3 separate regions of the Homo sapiens genome follow, and all the other regions are linked to region 3. The links are contacts of gene promoters, found by promoter capture Hi-C in human tissues and cell types (Jung and others, 2019). All regions are on one chromosome and are shown on one strand. Each heading gives the region's core, a stretch centred on a gene start or on the middle of the fragment in contact. The rest is flanking DNA. Distances are from core to core; before and after follow the strand shown. Region 1 overlaps FUT3 (fucosyltransferase 3 (Lewis blood group)). Region 2 holds the start of RANBP3 (RAN binding protein 3). Region 3 holds the start of CAPS (calcyphosine).

Region 1 (3,404 bases), core at 253-2,752, 59 kb after region 3:
AAGTGGAGCCTGGCCTGTGATTTTGAGGGCTTCCAGAAGTATTAAAGTGGTGGCTGCTGCCACATGTAGACATGAGGGCCAGCCTAAAACAGTAAGGTCAGGTCGTTTGGATAGAAAGGCTGCAGGGCACAGTCTTGGCTCTTGTATAAGAATTCTGACCACACAGCCCAGCACTTCGGCTGTGTGTAAGGAAAAAGGGTTGGGCTAAGTCAGGGAGAGCTAGTGTGGGAGCAGTCTCTATAGCTGTTTTCAAGGAACGGAAAGAGGAGTGGGGAAAGGATTTAGGATCTATGGGATCAGCTAGATTTCCCTTTGTGAGTTTATATAATGGTTTTGTTAGGATGGCAAAACCAGGTATCCAAAGGCAAAAGTACCCAACCATGCCCAGGAAGGAAAGAGTTTTTGCTTTGTAGGAGGGGTTGGGGTTTGAGAGATCAGCCGGACATGATCGGCAGGGAGAACACGTGTGTTTTCATGAAGAATTATGCTGAGGTAGGTAACGGATGAGGAAGAAATCAGGGCTTTGGAGGGGGATACGCAATATCCCTTTAAGAATAGATGTTGGAGGAGCAGGAGGGTGTCCTGTTGGGAAGATTTGCAGGAGGGGCTATAAAGTAGAAGGTCATCAAAATATTGAATAAGGTGAGAAGCAAAGGGGTGGAAAGAAAGTAAATCATGAGAAAGAGCTTGGCTGAAGTAATGAGGGCTGTCTCTGAAGCCTTGTGGCAGTACAGCCCAGGTAAGCTGCTGGGACTGATGGGTGTCAGGGTCAGCCCAGGTAAAAGCAAAAAGAGGCTGGGATGAGGGGTGCAGGGGAATGGTGAAAAAAGCATCTTTAAGATCAAGAACTGAATAGTGAGTTGTGTAGGAAGGTATTGAGGACAAAAGAGTGTACGGGTTGGTCCCCACAGGGTGGATAGGAAAAACAATTTTGTTGATAAGGTGCAGATCCTGAACTAACCTGTAAGACTTGACCAGTTTTTGGACAGGTAAAATGGGGGAATTGTAAGGAGAGTTTATAGGCTTTAGAAGCCCATGCTGTAGCAGGCGAGGGATAATAGGCTTTAGTTCCCTTAAAGCCTGTTGTGGGATGGGATACTGGCATTGAGCGGGGTAAGGGTGATTAGGTTTTAATGGGATAGTAACGGGCGTGTGATTGGTTGCCGGGGAGGGAGTAGGGGTGTCCCCTCCCTGTGGGTGAAGGTGGGAGGGATACAAGAGGAAGACACGAAGGACGCTTTGGTTTGGGAAGAAGGGCGGCAATGAGATGTGGCTATAGTCCAGGAATGGTCAGGGAAGAAGACAATTTGGTTAAAATGTCTCGGCCTAATAACAGAACTGGGCAGGTGGGGATAACTAAGAAAGAGTGCATAAATGAATGTTGTCCAAGTTGGCACCAGAGTGGGGGAGTTTTAAGGGGTTTTGAATCTTGGCTGTCAATACCCACAACAGTTATGGGGGCAAGGGAAACAGGCCCTTGAAAGAAAGGTAATGTGGGCTGGGTGTGGTATCTCACGCCTGTAATCCCAGCACTTTGGGAGGCCGAGGCGGGCAGATCACCTGAGGTCAGGAGTTCGAGACCAGCCTGGCCAACAAGGTGAAACCCCATCTCTACTAAAAATACAAAAATTAGCCGGGTGTGGTGGCGGGCATCTGTAATCCCAGCTACTCGAGAGGCTGAGGCAGGAGAATCCCTTGAACCCGGGAGGTGGAGGTTGCAGTGAGCCGAGATTGCTCCGTTGCACTCCAGCCTGGGTGACAGAGAGAGACTCTGTCTCAAAAAAAAAAGAAAGGTAATGTGGATGGGTAGCTCCCATATCAATTAAACAGGGGATGGCCTTACCCTCCACTGTGAGAGTTACCCGAAGCTCGGCGTCCATGATGGTCCAGGGGGCTTCCGAGGCGACCAGGCAGCATCAGTCTTCAGCCGCTAAGCTGAGAAGATCTGAAAAGGAGTCAGTCAGAGAGCCTGGGGCCAGAGTTCCAGGGGCTCTGGGAGTGGCTGCCAGGCTAGTTGGACGGTCTGATTTCCAGTGGGGTCCTGCACAGATGGGACACGGCTTAGGAGGAATCCCAGGCTGCGGGCATTCCTTGGCCCAGTGGCCAGATTTCCGGCACTTGAAGCAAGATCCTGGGGCAGGAGGTCCTGGAGGAATGCCTGGCAGATGTGGTTTAGGCGTTTTGAAGTTCTCATGTTCTGGAGATGTGGCTGGCGTTTCTCTCTCAGCGGAGGCAAGTAATTACAACTCAGAAATACGTTGCCACTTGGCTGTATCTTTTTTATTATTGTATACCTTGAAGGCAAGGTTAATTAAGTCCTGTTGTGGGGTTCGAGGGCTGGAATCTAATTTTTGGAGTTTTTTCTAATGTTAGGAGCGGATTGAGTGATAAACTGCATATTGAGAATAAGACGGTCTTCTGGTCCCTCTGGGTCTAGGGTGGTAAAGCATCTCAGGGTTGTTGCCAAATGGGCCATGAACTGGGCCGGGTTTTTATATTTGATGGAAAAGAGCCTAAATGCTAACTGATTTGAGAGAGGTCAGCTAAAGAAAAAGGAGCATTAACCTTGCCTATGCCTTCAGCTCCAGCCACCTCTCTAAGAGGAAATTGTTGGGCAGGTGGGGGAGGGCTGTGTCACGGAACGAAACTGTAAGCCAGACCGGGTGTGAGGAGGGGAGGTGATAGAAGGATTATAGGGTGGGGGAGCGGAGGTTGAGGAAGAATTGGGACCTGGCTCTGCCTGGCAAGGAGCAGCCTGGGGAGGAGGGGAGAGGTCAGATGGGTTCGTAGAAAAGGAGGATTCAAAGGACTCAGAGCTTGGGGTGCAGACTGAAGGAACAGACAGGAGAGAAAGAAGAAAGATTTGGGACGAGTCGCATTGGGAGCAGAGACTAGGGAGGGACCAGTGTGTAAAAGAATGCCTGGACGCGGCCGGGCATGGCGGCTCACACCTGTAATCCCAGCACTTTGGGAGGCCAAGGTGGGCGGATCACAAGGTCAGGAGATCGAGACCATCCTGGCTAACACAGTGAAACCCCGTCTCTACTAAAAATAAAAAAAATTAGCTGGGCATGGTGGCGGGCGCCTGTAGTCCCAGCTACTCAGGAGGCTGAGGCAGGAGAATGGCGTGAACCCGGGAGGCGGAGCTTGCAGTGAGCCGAGATCGCGCCACTGCACTCCAGCCTGGGTGACAGAGCGAGACTCCGTCTCAAAAAAAAAAAAAAGAATGCCTGGACGTCAGGCACCTCGGACCATTTGCCCATGTTTCAACAAAAATCATCTAGGTCTTGTAAAGTGGAGAAATCAAAAGTGCCGTTTTCTGGCCATTTGGAACCGTTGTCGAGTTTGTATTGGGGCCTAGCAGTATTGCAAAATAAGGCAGTTAGGTTTTTAGGTCAGGTGTG
Region 2 (3,464 bases), core at 48-2,547, 64 kb before region 3:
CTTGCTGTGTCCCTAGGATGGTGGCAGTGGCACTGTCACAGCTCACTGCAGCCTCAACCTCCTGGGCTCAAGTGATCCTCCTGCCTCAGCCTCCCAAGTAGCTGGGACCACAGGCTTGCACCACCACATCCGGGTAATTTTTGTGTTTTTGTAGAGATGGGGTCTTGCTCTGTTGCCTAGGCTGGTTTTGAACTGAGCTCAAGCGATCCTCCCACCTTGGCCTCCCGCAGTGCTGGGATTCCAGGGGTGAGCTACCGCGTCTGGCTGATTATATTTTTCAAAGACTCCTCAGCCTGCGGCCATGTGCAGAACCAAGCCTGGGGCTTCAAAAGAATGCAGCAAAGGATAGCAGAGAGGCCGCTGTCCAAGTCTTCCATGAGATAGATACGGACGATGTGGCCTAGGGTGGTGACAGCCTGGGGGTGACAATGGGTGGCTCTGGGCTGTATTTTGGAGGCAAGGCCAAGTCCGAAGGATTTGCTGAGAGATTCATAGCAGGTGAGTAGAGAACAACTCCAGGGTGTCCAGGACCCTCCCATGAGCCTTGTGAGTGAGGCTGATGGTCCCATTTTACAGATGGGTAACCTGGAGGCGCGCGGTTCCCCTCCCATGAGCTTGTGAAGTTGATTCTCGTAGCTCCGAGGGGTCGAGTCCCTCGCGCCGGCTCCCCCCGCCCCCAACGCCAGCACCTGGGTCCCAGGGCTGCGCCCCCTCCTAGAGCCTGACCACGACCCCCGCCCCCGCCGATGAGCTCTGATTTACCCCCCAATCCCAAGCACCCCGCGCCCTCTCGCCACTTCCCCCGTGGTTTCAGGAAAGCGTTTGCCGAAGGTACCGGCTCCTAAGGCGGGTAAACTGAGGTAGGAGGCAACGCGTCTCCCGCCCGCGCGTGTGGGAAGCCCCCGCAGGCCCGGCGATTTACCTGGAGGAAGGCCTCGGCTGCGGCGCCCTGAACTGCTCACTGTCCCACCGCGGGGGAACCCCGGAAAACGAGTGGGAAAACGAGTGCTTCAAGACCCGCCTCGGGCCGCGCGGTGCCGCCTCACTAAACCTTAGTCGCTGCCACTGCGCATGCGCCCTTCCCGGCCCTTTCCCCGCCCTCTCAGTCGGCGGGAAAAGGAGGCGGGAGATGGCTCGTGCGCAGGTGCGTGCTAGGAGCGCGGCTCGTCAGGGCAGGCTGCTCTGCAGGGCAGGCGATCCGGGGCTCGCCTCCGCGCGGCATTCAGCGCGCAGGCGCGAGCTGGCCGCCTCACACGGAGTCGGCTTGTTAAGTGCGCACGCGCGGGAGTTTCTGGCAGAAAGCAGGCGAGCCTGGGCCGGCGCGGGGCCTTGTGGGAGGGCTTAAGGAAGTAAAATGGCGGACCTGGCGAACGAAGGTAGGGGAGGCGCCGTTGGGGACCGGCTGGCGGCCGGGGAACGGGCGGCGGGAGGACTAGGGGCCACAAGCCCTTGGGGGGAGCACCGCAGAGTGCAAGGGTTTCGTCCGCTCCAGGCTAGCGCCGTGGCGGGCCTTGCAGCCGCCCCCTATTGCGTCCCCTCAGGCCGGGCTCACCGGCCCGGCCCATCACTCCCGGCAACCCCAGCCACTGCAGCCGTCTGGCTAGAGGAGCCGGGTGGCCATCGGGATCGCAGCCCTAAGGCCCCTCTGCGTCGCAGCCAAGCTCGGGGCTGAAGGGGGCGGGAGGCGCGGCCCCAGTGCTTCGGCCACGGATGTAAATAGACCTTAGGGCCTGGTTGTGGCCCGGAGCGCGCCACGCTCCCTCCCCGCCCCCTCGTCCTCCGCCACCCGGCATCTCCCCTTCCCCGGCCTGGCTGCCTATCTCCTAAGCCCGTGAGGCCCTCGTCCTCCGCGGGCCAGCCGCACACCGCGGACGGAGGAAGCCCAGGCCGTTTTCACCCCGTCCCCGCCCCGAACTTCGGCCCCCACTTCCCGCCAGTTCCCCCCGGATCCTTCGGGGCGCTTCGTCTCCCCCTCATTTAGGCCCCGCCGCAGGATCTGGGCCGCCGAAAACCCTGGCTGCTCTTTGGCCCTTTTTGCTGCACTTCCAGACAAGAGACCGTGCGAGTCCCTCCTCTGTGGAGCGCTGACAGCCCACCTGAGTGTTTTTGACAAGGTTACACTTCCAGATCCCCCGAGAAGGCACCATAAGGCTGATGTCTGCTTCCATCCATAGTCGTGTTGCCATCGCTGTAGCTTCAAGACTTCTGAGGCCTATTTTTAGCTCCCCCCCTTTTCTAGTTGCACAAATGCAGGCAAGCTCTCTACCTGTCTGGCTCTGATTCCCCCATTCGGTGCTCCCTGTGACTGGAGGGTTTTCCCTACCGAATTGCAGTAATGAATGAATGATGATAGGAAGTGCTTGGTCTTGTGGAGCATTTAGGGTAGTTACCAGGTGTGGTGCAAAGTCTTGACATACTGTTTTCCCTGGTAGGAGGTATAGATACTGTTAGCCCCATTCACTTGATGAGGAGACTGAGTCAACGTGGTTAAGTCGCTTATCCAAGGCGTGTCACACAGCTGGGAAGGAGCAGGGATGTGAACCAAGATGGCCTGGCTTCAGATGCCAGACCACGGGTGCTCAGTCCCTGCAGATTCTGATTCTGTGTGGTGTTGGGCGGGCGCTGGGCATCTGTACAGGCAGCAGCACAGGTTCTCTCCCTGATTCTTGGCCATTTTATTCTATTTTATTTTTTGGGACGGAGTCTAGCTCTGTAGCCAGGCTGGAGTGCAGTGGCGCCATCTCGGCTCACTGCAATCTCCGCCTCCCGGGTTCAGGTGATTCTCCTGCCTCAGCCTCCCGAGTAGCTGGGATTACAGGCGCGCACCACCACACCCAGCTAATTTTTGTGTTTTTAGTACAGACGGGGTTTCACCATGTTGGCCAGGATGGTCTCCATCTCCTGACCTCGTGATCTGCCCGCCTCGGCCTCCCAAAGTGCTGGGATTACAGGCGTGAGCCACCGCACCCGGCTGCTACATCTCTTTTTTTAAGATAAAGGAGCCCATGGAGGGTTGCAGCATTCCAACTCATGAGATCTAGTTACAGAGGGACTGGGTAAGTGGGAATCAGTATGACATATTTTATGTATTTACATCCTGAGCCCACATAGCTTCTTGAACTCAGGACTCATGTCCAGCATCACATTTCGACATCTCCATTTGGATGTGTCATAGGTAAGTCTAGAGCGTTTCCAAAACAAAATCCTTATCTCCCCCACTACACCTGCCCATCCCATGGTCTTTCACCCATTGTAGTTAGTTAGGCAGGTCCATTCTTTGAATTCTTCTGGCCCCAAACCTTGAAGTCACCCCTGGTTTCCCTCTTTCTCATACTGCACAGCAAATACTATCATTTCTACCTTAAAATTATTCCCAAAGGGGGACCACCACTTCTCCCCACCAACACCGTCAATGCTTAGCCCCCGTTCCCTCCACCCTTACCCATCTGAGAACTTCTCAGCCC
Region 3 (3,310 bases), core at 561-3,060:
CTCCAGCAGCCTGGGGCCTCATGCTCCCACCCAGCGTGTCACCAGTGCTGGGGTCCAGCCACAGCCCTGTTCTCTCCACCACCACCCGCACTTTACCCCCACCCCTGCTGCAAGGCCCCGCCGGTCTGCCCCCGCCCAGAGCTCCCAGCCTCGGGCCGCTCACCAGAATGTAGATACTGGGCCCGCTGGACATGTTACCTGCTATTTTTATTCCCCATTTGCCATCTTCTGATTGGGGGTTGATGTTTTACAGATTTTTTTTTCAAAGGCTTTATTTCAGTTTCTGAGGTTAGGATGCCCCTGTGCCCCTCGCTCCACACCTGGGCAGGTCTAAACTTCCTTCCAGGATGGCCTCCACACACAGCCTCCCACCTGGGGTCACCTGGCTTCCTGGGGGACCCGCAAGGGAGGGGCAGGGAGCAGCAGTCCGGGTGCGGGGATCGGGGGACCTCGGCGGGGGCATCCACAGGGGCTGCAAGATCTCTGGTCAGCATGGCGTGGGTGGGGAGAGCGTTTCTCCCTGGGGTCCTGAGCCAGTGACTCCTGTTAGGACCTTTGTCCCACCTCCGCCTGGTGGACCGGCAGGGACCTGGTCTAGCCAGTCCTGCAGCCTCCATTCCCCCACCTGCCCCTCCCCGCTCTGTGGTGTGGCTGCCCAGGAGAGAAGGGGCCCAGGGAAGGGAGGTCTCCGGCAGGGGTGGGGAGTGACAGGCCAGGGCAGCAGGGCTGAGCCGGAGCTGCTCACAGCTGCCAGGCACTGGTCATCATGGCCACGAACTCCTCATCCGTGTTCATGGAGGCACTCACGCCGCTGTAGTAGTCCTGGAATTCCGCCAGTGTGACCTGGGAACAGAGGGCCGTGAGGGGGCACGGCCGAGGAACTGCCTGGGGAGGGGGCCCCCCGCGCAGCCACCCACCTGCCCGTCCTTCTCAGAGGAGTCGAAGTTGTCCAGGAAGCGGCGCAGCACCTCGTCCTCGGTCCACTCCCCACTGCGCACCTTGGGGTGGGCACGGCCACTGTACACCCCGCGGAGGTCGTCCACCGTCACGACGCCGTCCCCACTGCGGTCCAGCTTGGCAAATGCAGCTGCGATGACAGCCTCCCGGGCCTGGGACATGGGGGGCTGGGACAGGAGGTGGTGACTGGGGGTGGTGGGTAGCACACCCAAACCCCCAAGACGCTGTGCAGAGCACTGGGGCTGTATGCCCCAGCAGGCGCCTCTTAACAGCAGCTCTTAGGGAGGAGTCCCCGTCTCCGCATCTCAGCATCCTCTGTCGCCCCATGCCCAGGGCACACGCCTTGACTGTGAGGTGGGGGCTCACCCGCAGCGCCCGAAGGAACTCCTCCAGATCCAGCGTCCCGCTGCCATTGCGGTCCCACTTCCTGCACACACCCTCTGCCTCCGCCTGGTCCAGCACCAGCCCGAGTTTGGCCAGACCCTGCCGGAACTCATCAGCGTCCAGGGATCTGCTCCCGTCCCGGTCTAGTTGGCGGAAAAACCTGGAGGCAGGGGACACGGTTGGAACAGTGGTCTCAGGGGCCGGGGTCAGGAAGGTGAGAGGGGACAGCTCACCTGGCCAGGCCCTGGATGCCCGAGGCCCCGCGGGACAGGCACTGTGCCCGGAGTTTCTCCATGGTGGCATCCACGGCGTCCATGCTTGGTCTGGGCTCTGGGCAGCTGGAAGGGAGAGAGGTCAAGGTGGGGACTCCCGCAAGCCCACCCTGGCCGACTGCCCCTTGTTCAGATGCTCACCTGGCCTGCGTCTGTCCCAGAGTCCTGCCTGCGGGGCCTTGTGTTAGCTGTGTTGTGCCTGGGGAGACTGTTGCTAGTGGAAGGTGCCTCTGGAGATGGGGTGGGGCCCAGCTGCATGAATGCACTGTGCTGGGCAGTGGGGAGTGGGGGAGGGATGGGTGCGCCCAGCCTGACTGCTTACTCAACTGCCAGCCCCACAGGGCCTGGGACAGAGCCAGATCCCTGTGGCACTGCATCCCTTCCTGGCTCCAAGGAGGAGGGGCAGGCCACTGCCCTGCAGGGGCTGAAATGCCCTGGATGGAGACAAGTCCGTGGCTGGGGAGGCTTGACGCATGATTCCTGTGTGACCCTGGACAGGTCCCTTTCCCTCTCTGGCTTCACAGGGGCTTCTCAGCCCGAGCCAGGGCTGACAAAATTGCTGAGGAATCAAAGTTCAAAAGGGCCCCAGGTTCTGACCGGCCACTGCGGCTCATGCCTGAAATCCCAGCACTTTGGGAGGTCTAGGTGGGAGGATCACTTGAGCCCAGGAGTTTGGACCAGCCTGGGGAACATATAGAGAACTTGTTTCTATTGTACAGCAACAAAAATGCCCCAGGTGGGCTGGGCGCGGTGGCTCATGCCTGTAATCCCAGCACTTTGGGAGGCCGAGGTGGGCAGATCACAAGGTGAGGAGTTTGAGACCAGCCTGACCAACATGGTGAAACCCCGCCTCTACTAAAAATACAAAAATTAGCCGTGCATGATGGTGGGCGCCTGTAATCCGAGCTACTTAGGAAGCTGAGGCAGGAGAATCGCTTGAACCCAGGAGGTGGAGCTTGCAGTGAGCCAAGATTGCACCACTGCACTCCAGTCTGGGCGACAGAGCAAGACTCCATCTCAAAAAGAAAAAAAAAAAAAAAGCCCCAGGTGGCCCAGGTCCTGGGGCCCTAAGACCTCCCACCCAGGCCCACCTCCAAGGGCAGGTCCTGCAACCCACAGAGACTGAGCTGAGCCTGAGGGACACCTCTGCTCACTGCCACAAAGCTTGTCACTGGCCGTTGTTAGGAGCCAGTCCCAGGATTTCTGTCTTTACGGATCTTTTGTTGTTGGTTTTCAGGCCTGAAACGTGACTTAGTGGGCTGGCTCCTGACAAGGTGGTGAGCCAGAGGTTGTGACCCCGAGTGGAAGAGCAGCCCTGATCCTGGACATAAACCTCAAGAGACGAAGCCACCTCACTGAAGGCCTTCAACGGAGACATCGGATATACCTGCCCGCTAAGATAGGTGGGTTTTCCAGGACTTGAAACGTGGGCCCTGTTTGAGGACCCACTGTTCGCCCCGACCCAAGGATCATCAATCGGAGCCTTCTCCAAGCCTGGCTTTACCTCGCTCACAGCACAATTATATTGTCAGAAGTTGCCTTGCCTGAGCGCGGTGGCTCATGCCTGTAATCCCAACACTTTGGGAAGCCAGGGCAGGAAGATCACTTGAGCCCAGGAGTTTGAGACCCGCCTGTGCAACATAGTGAGACCCCCCCATCTCTACAAAAACTACAAAAAATTAGCCAGGCATGGTGGT

The links. The method cuts DNA at HindIII sites, captures the fragments that hold promoters and counts their contacts. A contact is called where the count stands out against the background at its distance.
Region 1: a fragment that was not itself captured here is called in contact with the fragment with the promoter of CAPS in region 3 in 2 of the 25 tissues and cell types used here (H1 embryonic stem cells and IMR-90 fibroblasts).
Region 2: the fragment with the promoter of RANBP3 here is called in contact with the fragment with the promoter of CAPS in region 3 in 3 of the 25 tissues and cell types used here (adrenal gland, dorsolateral prefrontal cortex and mesenchymal stem cells).

What each region holds. Positions count from the first base shown.
Region 1 is chr19:5,853,102-5,856,505 of GRCh38, reverse strand. The region is part of intron 1 of FUT3 (fucosyltransferase 3 (Lewis blood group)); the gene reads left to right. It overlaps LOC101928844 (a long non-coding RNA gene), which reads right to left. Exons shown (of 4, transcript NR_110740.1): 3 at 1,844-1,935. Among named protein-coding and RNA genes, the nearest start is that of FUT3, 2.3 kb to the left of the region's middle. RefSeq lists a silencer at 1,004-1,391. The HindIII fragment of the contact is 5,809 bases long and covers 1-3,404 here.
Region 2 is chr19:5,975,973-5,979,436 of GRCh38, reverse strand. RANBP3 (RAN binding protein 3) reads left to right here and starts at 1,297. Exons shown (of 17, transcript NM_007322.3): 1 at 1,297-1,376. The coding sequence starts at 1,355. It overlaps RANBP3-DT (RANBP3 divergent transcript), which reads right to left and starts at 1,034. Exons shown (of 4, transcript NR_046376.1): 1 at 923-1,034. RefSeq lists silencers at 904-953, 1,004-1,173, 1,404-1,513. The HindIII fragment of the contact is 11,015 bases long and covers 1-3,464 here.
Region 3 is chr19:5,912,754-5,916,063 of GRCh38, reverse strand. It overlaps CAPS (calcyphosine), which reads right to left and starts at 1,810. Exons shown (of 5, transcript NM_004058.5): 1 at 1,755-1,810; 2 at 1,575-1,679; 3 at 1,324-1,501; 4 at 918-1,124; 5 at 1-843. The coding sequence starts at 1,657. The coding sequence ends at 742. The HindIII fragment of the contact is 10,666 bases long and covers 1-3,310 here.